2 separate regions of the Homo sapiens genome follow, and region 2 is linked to region 1. Evidence: promoter capture Hi-C in human tissues and cell types (Jung and others, 2019). All regions are on one chromosome and are shown on one strand. Each heading gives the region's core, a stretch centred on a gene start or on the middle of the fragment in contact. The rest is flanking DNA. Distances are from core to core; before and after follow the strand shown.

Region 1 (3,281 bases), core at 358-2,857:
TGGACAGCTTAAAACATTTTGGAAAAGGCAGGTAGCTCAGCGTGGTCGCAGATTAGCATGGCAGGCTGGCAAAAGGTAAGCAAAATGCTAGCTCACAAAGGGAACTGTGTACTGCTAAGAGTTTCGATTTTTAGCCTGTAACCAACGAAGTATAGTTAAAATGTTTTTAAGAATAATGACAGGATCAGATCTGTGCTATGGACAGATTATTTTGGCAGCCCTGTGGAAGCGGGAACGAAACTTGGGGCCTAAGAAATACAGCGTGTGTCTGTGAGTCTCAATTTTCCAGTATAGGAACCACTTTAACAAAACAAAATATCCTATGAAACACTTCATTCAGTTCTCCAGCTCACCACCTTAAACATCATGACTTGAAACTAAAATGAGTGGTAGTTTCCTCTCCTCAACAAACACACATACAATGCTTCACATCAACAAGATAATGTGGAGCTTCTATTAAAATATTCCATTCCTTCCATTAAATTATTAAATACCACTAGCTATAGATATTACCAGACATTCATTTAAAACTCATAAGTACTGTAGCCCAGATTACCTGGAGAATCTTGTCAACTGCCCACGGTCCCTCTATCCTACTTCGATAGCCACTGACATCTCACTGGTAACCGAGACGTAAGTGAAAGTACATCTAATCAGCGAAACTGACAAAGTCAGCCTTGGAAAAACAGTAAATGGAGATGTCGTTCACGAAACGAACAGATACAGAAAGACGAGGCAGTGTCCCTAACGGAGCAGAGCTGTCAACGAGTCTATGTAGTTAGGAGCCCAGGAATGGCCAGTCTTGTAAGAAACGGCCGGTAGACGGAGCGCCTGTGACAACTAGTTGTAGTAGTTTGCGGGCAAGGGAGAAAAAGGACCGAGGTAAAAGAGGGTGTAGGGCACGCTGGGGGTGGATCTACCCGCAGCAAACAGGAGACAATGAGAGAGATCCAGACACAATTCAGAGCGGAGGAGCGGTAGGAGGGTGTGGAGCTGGGAGCGAAGACCCGACTCCCGGGCTGGTGGCGGGAAGTTAGCGGATAAGGAAGAGGCACCCGAAGGATGACTAGAGTTTGGAGCGGCAGTGGAAGCCCAGGGACGTGGGAGGCCGAGGAAACAGCAGATCTCGAGGCGGGGTGCGGGATGCACACCCCGGGGACGCGGAGGGACAGGGAGAGCGAAGGTGTCACCCTTGACTTGCCGGGGCAGCCCTCCCGCACCCAGCCCGGTACTCACAGAGCTCAGAGTACCGATGGCAGCCCCGGCCCAGCTGCTGCAGATAGCGCTGCAGCACGTCCGTGAGGAGGTGGCAGGCGCTGAGCTGCACCGAGTCCCAGCCCAGCGCCTGGCAGATCTGCGCCACCGAGACCCTCAACAACGACCTGGAGTAACTCTCGCACATCCCGCTGCGTGGACGCCACCGCAGCCCTTGCTGCCACTGCTCTCCAGCCCCGCCGCCAGACCTTAGCAGGGTCCCCGATTCATCCTCTAGGGCTTCCGCGGCGGGGAAAGGGTCCCCCGGACCCCCGGCGACCACCTCAAAGCCCCAGCAGCACGGAGCGCGCCAGCCTGAGAGCCGCCATTTTGGACTCGCTCCGCCTCCCGCTGGACGGCCGCCGGGGCGAGGCAGCATAAGCCGAATGCCGAGCGCGGCGATGAGAAAGCTCCGCCCCTTGGGAGCGGAACGATTCCTCGGGATCGCCTCTGAGGCCTGGAAGCCGGCCGGAAGCGGGCGTGGGGCGCGCAGGTGGAGGAGGCGCCCAGGGCGGCAGGTGCTGGGGCGCTCACCTGGGGGACAGCGGTGACGAAAACGCCAGTGTTTTAGAGGCAAACGAGGGATCTGGGATACGACATTGACAGGTTAGAGAGTTAGCACTAATAACGTTAGTCATATTAGAGAGTTATGTGCTAGAGAGAAGTTTGGGGCGTGGGAACTTACGGAGCTCGCCAAACGCAGACCTGCGCTGGTGTTGCCTCAGCTAAAAATCTGTGTATTGAGCTGCTTGCCACTGCAAAGATTAAATAAAGTCCAAGCTGTTCCGCATGCCCTTCAAAGCCCTTCGCAATAGGGCAGGAACTAGGAGGACTCTGTGCCAAATTAATGGGGGCCTCAAAAAACTCAGTCATCAAGATCGATAATATTTTAACAGTTTTTTTAAAAAAATCCAAATCCATGCCATAAACTCCTGACTCACTCATGTCATTCTAATCCCAGCCCTGGTTCCAATAAAACTTTTTTTTTTTTTTTTTTTTTAAAAAAAACAGGTAAGCTGCCTGTGGGCTATAGTGTGCGATTTGAGCATCGCGGCTGTGACCTATCGGGGGATGGGGACCTCGGCTGCCTACAGAGGCCAAACCGAGCCTTAAACCGGTGTCGCAGGCCGAGTGTCCTGGGAACGGTTGCCTACCCCAGAGCCTTCTCCCAGCTCCATCCAAGTATTGCCAGAAATCGGATTTAGGGATAAATATCTTGATTTTTAAATACAGAATTGGGAACACATCTCAAAAGCCAAACTGATCCCACGGTTAGTCTAGATTCAGCCTGCAGGTCGCCCGATTGTAGTGGCTGAACTATGCGGTTTCTTAAATATGCCCTTCTGTACTTATCACAGTGTATTTAGTTTATGTGCTCCTCCAATAAATTGCGAGTTTATGAGTGGCTCTATATTCCTCCGACAGGGACTATTCCAGAACTTTGAACATGATATTCACATTTTTCAAAGTCTGGGAAACTCAATAATAGAACTGAAATTATGGTTCTTCAGCTAAATGACGATCTGCAGAGAAGCAAGGTACTAAAGGGCAAGGTGCCTGCATTTACTCCCTGGACACTCTGTCCCCAAGTTATCAGGAACATTGTGTTGCTAAATCTATGAGACATTTTTCAGTCCTAGCCGTACTTGATTATTTTGTAGCTATTTGATAATGTTGAACGCTTCTGTAACATTGAAACTCTCTTGCGCCTTGGATTTCACAAATCTGTCCCGCTACCGCCGCCACCCTGGGTGTTTGTTCCTCTTCATTTGCCTTTCTGTGTATAGGGGAGGGGATTTTATTTCGGAAAATTTCAAACCTACAGAAAAGTTGAAACAAAATCATAGACTCACGTGTACACTTCAACTAGATTCACCAATTGTTAACATTTTGCCAATTTACTATATATTTTGTATTTATATATGCACGCAGGTATTTTTTTTCCAGCAGTTTGAAAATAAGCTGCAAACTTCATGACACTTAACCCCACCACACCTCGACATGTATCACCCCAAAACAAGAACATT
Region 2 (3,281 bases), core at 227-2,726, 64 kb after region 1:
TTAACAATCTTAATGGTATTTTAGGGATGCGGAAAAGGCAAATTTGTATCCATAAGTATGGTGTCATTTTTTTGTCTTTTAGGAATATGTGTTTTTAACCTTATTTTAAATTATTTTAATTTGTAGGGCCCTTTAAAAGGACGCAGAGTTGAAGGAATTCAATATGAAGACATTTCTAAACTTGCCTGAGTTTGAAAATTTGTTAACAATACATTAAAATCTTAAAGCATCAAATTGGTGTTCGCCAAGGCATTATGAGACTCTACTGTGTTAGGGTATATTCTTTTGTATAAAACAAACAGGTTTTTGAAAATATTACTGTATAGTTGTTCAGCTAAACTTTGAGAAGAATTTAATTATGTCTCATGAGGTATCAAACTATGTAATTTTGTCCTTGTTATTTTTGTTTCCTTTGTAATTTACTTGATGAGTTTATATCTTCATTAAAGAATGTTATTATAAAGTGTTTTATCTATGACAATTTAGAATCATGTAATTGGAGGAAATCCTTCATACACTCTATATTTTCAGTAGTAGAGTAGTAAAGTTGAACTCTAAGTGTGACTAAATTTTAAATGTCAAACTATAAATATAGAAGCAGCTTTATTGTGGTAATAATTCATATACCATACAGTTCACTCATTTAAAATATACATACAATTCAGTGGTTTTTAGTATTTTTGCAGAATTGTGCAGCCATCACCACTGTCTGATTTTAAAACACTTTCATACCCCAAAATGAAACCCTTTAATAGTCAATCGCTATTTTTCCCCTCTGCCCTAGCCCTAGACAGCCACTAATGTACTTTCTGTCTCTATGGATTTGCCCTTTCTGGACATTTCTTATAAATGGAATCATATAATATGTGATCTTTTATGACTGGCTTCTTACACTTAGCATCATGTTTTCAAGGTTTATCCATGCAGTAGCATGTAGGCGTGCTTCATTTGTTTTTATGGCTGCTTAATATTCCACTGTATGGATGTACCGTATTTTGTTTGTCCATTCATCAGCTGATAAACATTTAGATTGTTTCTACTTTTTGGCTATTGTGAATAATGCTGCCATGATCACCCATTTACAGGATTTTATGTGAACAGAAGCTTTCGCTTCTGCCAAACTCTTCCAGAGCAGCTATACCATTTTACAGTCCTACCAGCAATGTTGAACTATAGTTTTATTTGTTTTTAATTTTTTTACTTTTAGAGACATGGTCTCACTGTGTTGCCCAGGCTGCTGTCAAACTCCTGGGCTCAAGTGATCCTCCTGCCTCAGCCTCCCAAAGTGCTAGGATTGCAGGTGTGAGCCACAGCACCCTGCCTAACCATACAGTTTGAAATAAGTAGGGCAGTGTATTATTAGGGAATGCAAAAGACAGGAAACCCACATTTGCCTGTGCCAAAGGAAAAACGAAGGGATATTTGTAGTGCACATGACTGAAAGGAGCAGACGCTAGCTTCCAGGGCAGCGGGACCGGGTGTGAACAGCCTTCCCTGGGCTTCCGCTCTGTCTCTGGCTCCTGTGCTGGCTCTCTACATTTACATTCTTGAGCACTCTAGGTTTACATCTTACCCTTCAGCAGCACCGGGAAGAGAGAGATGATCTATCTTTTCTTTTTCTTTTTTTTTTTTTTTCTGACACAGAGTCTCACTCTGTCACCCAGGCTGATTGCAGTAGTGCAATCTCGGCTCACTGCAACCTCCACCTCCCGGGTTCAAGCCATTCTCCTGCCTCAGCCTCCTGAGTAGCTGGGACTACAGGCATGCGCCACCACGCCCAGCTAATTTTTGTAATTTTAGAAGAGATGAGGTTTCACCATGTTGGCCAGGATGGTCTCGATCTCTTGACCTTATGATCTGCCCGCCTCAGCCTCCCAAAGTGCTGGGATTACAGGCATGAGCCACTACGCCTCTTTTTTTTTGTTCTGTTTTTTGAGATAGGGTCTTGCTCTGTCATCCAGCCTGGAGTGCAGTGGCACAATCATGGCTCACTGCAGCCTCGTCCTCCTGGGCTTAGGTCATTGATTCTCCCACCTCAGCCTCCCGAGTAGCTGGGACTACAGGCATGCACTACCATGCCTGGCTAATTTTTTTGATTTTTAGTAGAGATGAGGTCTTGCTATGTTGCCCAGGCTGGTCTCAAACTCTTGAGCTCAAGCAATCCTCCTGCCTCGGCCTTCTAAAATGTTGTGATTACAGGTGTGAGCTACCACGCCTTGCCTGAGTTGATCTTCTACAAGAGTTCAAACAAAAAACAGACCATACCAGGATGATCACTTCAAACATGAGGATGGGTATAAGCTGACGTCAGACACAGGTATGGTGCCAAACCCTGGGATCTCTCTCTTTAACTGAGAGTCAGGGAGGGCTGATTGCTTCTATTCTCAGAAGATGGGAGAACGTATGCTGTTAGCAGAAATGTAAGAGGCAGTAAAGAAATACTAATAGGATGATGGCAGAAGCTTTACAGAAAATGTTCCTCAGGGATGAATTAAGGTTTTTCCAAAGTAACCTGACAGCACATTATGGAAAGCAACTGGGTTTTGGGTGTGGGCAGTCTTTAGATCAAATTCTGGCAGTTCTGTTCATTGGCTTTGTAATATTAGAATGTTAATGTTCTTGAATTGCAATGTTTTTAATGTATAAATTGTCAAAATGTTTTTCAGCAGGGTTGATGGGAGACCTACAGAAAATACATATAAATCATCAGACATGAAGTCCAGCACATAGTAGGTATTGAATAAATGGCAGTGAGTGGTCATGTCCAGAAATGAAGCCAAGAAGTTGAGCCTGGACTACTAAGAATCTGGTCTGAAGAATTTCAAAAAGGAGAATGGTTCTCCCTGATAACAAATAGTGATGAGTAAAACCAGACAAATTACATATGCCTCCCCCAAGTATGTACGTTTGGAATCAACTTGGTGGTTTTCTTCAGAGAAAAAATGTTTCATGTCTGCCTCCCACATTTAATTCTCCAACGTCTTTCTGAAATTATTTCAGAATGAAATGAGGCAGCATACTTGAGGTTAAATTCAATAAAAAATATCTGAAGCATAAAAATACGATTATAGACTTCACAGTAGTTTTTTCCCTCTGAGTCTGTAGAACTTGATAGAGTTTATGCTAAGCAAAATGACTGCAGATAACTAACAACAGGTCTCATATTAGACTTTGATTTTTGAAGTATCATAAGCTATTTTTCTTTATTTCAAACATAGACTTTACTTTTTAGAGCAGTCTCTGTGGGTTTTGACAAATGTATAATGACATGCATCTGCCAC

What was found. The method cuts DNA at HindIII sites, captures the fragments that hold promoters and counts their contacts. A contact is called where the count stands out against the background at its distance.
Region 2: a fragment that was not itself captured here is called in contact with the fragment with the promoter of TAF3 in region 1 in 1 of the 25 tissues and cell types used here (spleen).

Annotation. Positions count from the first base shown.
Region 1 is chr10:7,816,831-7,820,111 of GRCh38, reverse strand. It overlaps TAF3 (TATA-box binding protein associated factor 3), which reads right to left and starts at 1,607. Exons shown (of 7, transcript NM_031923.4): 1 at 1,237-1,607. The coding sequence starts at 1,402. LOC105376392 (a long non-coding RNA gene) reads left to right here and starts at 1,749. Exons shown (of 3, transcript XR_001747356.1): 1 at 1,749-1,860. RefSeq lists enhancers at 895-1,412, 1,541-1,600, 1,413-1,931. The HindIII fragment of the contact is 13,699 bases long and covers 1-3,281 here.
Region 2 is chr10:7,752,988-7,756,268 of GRCh38, reverse strand. It overlaps KIN (Kin17 DNA and RNA binding protein), which reads left to right. Exons shown (of 13, transcript NM_012311.4): 13 at 127-3,281. The coding sequence ends at 189. Among named protein-coding and RNA genes, the nearest start is that of KIN, 33 kb to the left of the region's middle. The HindIII fragment of the contact is 4,534 bases long and covers 1-3,281 here.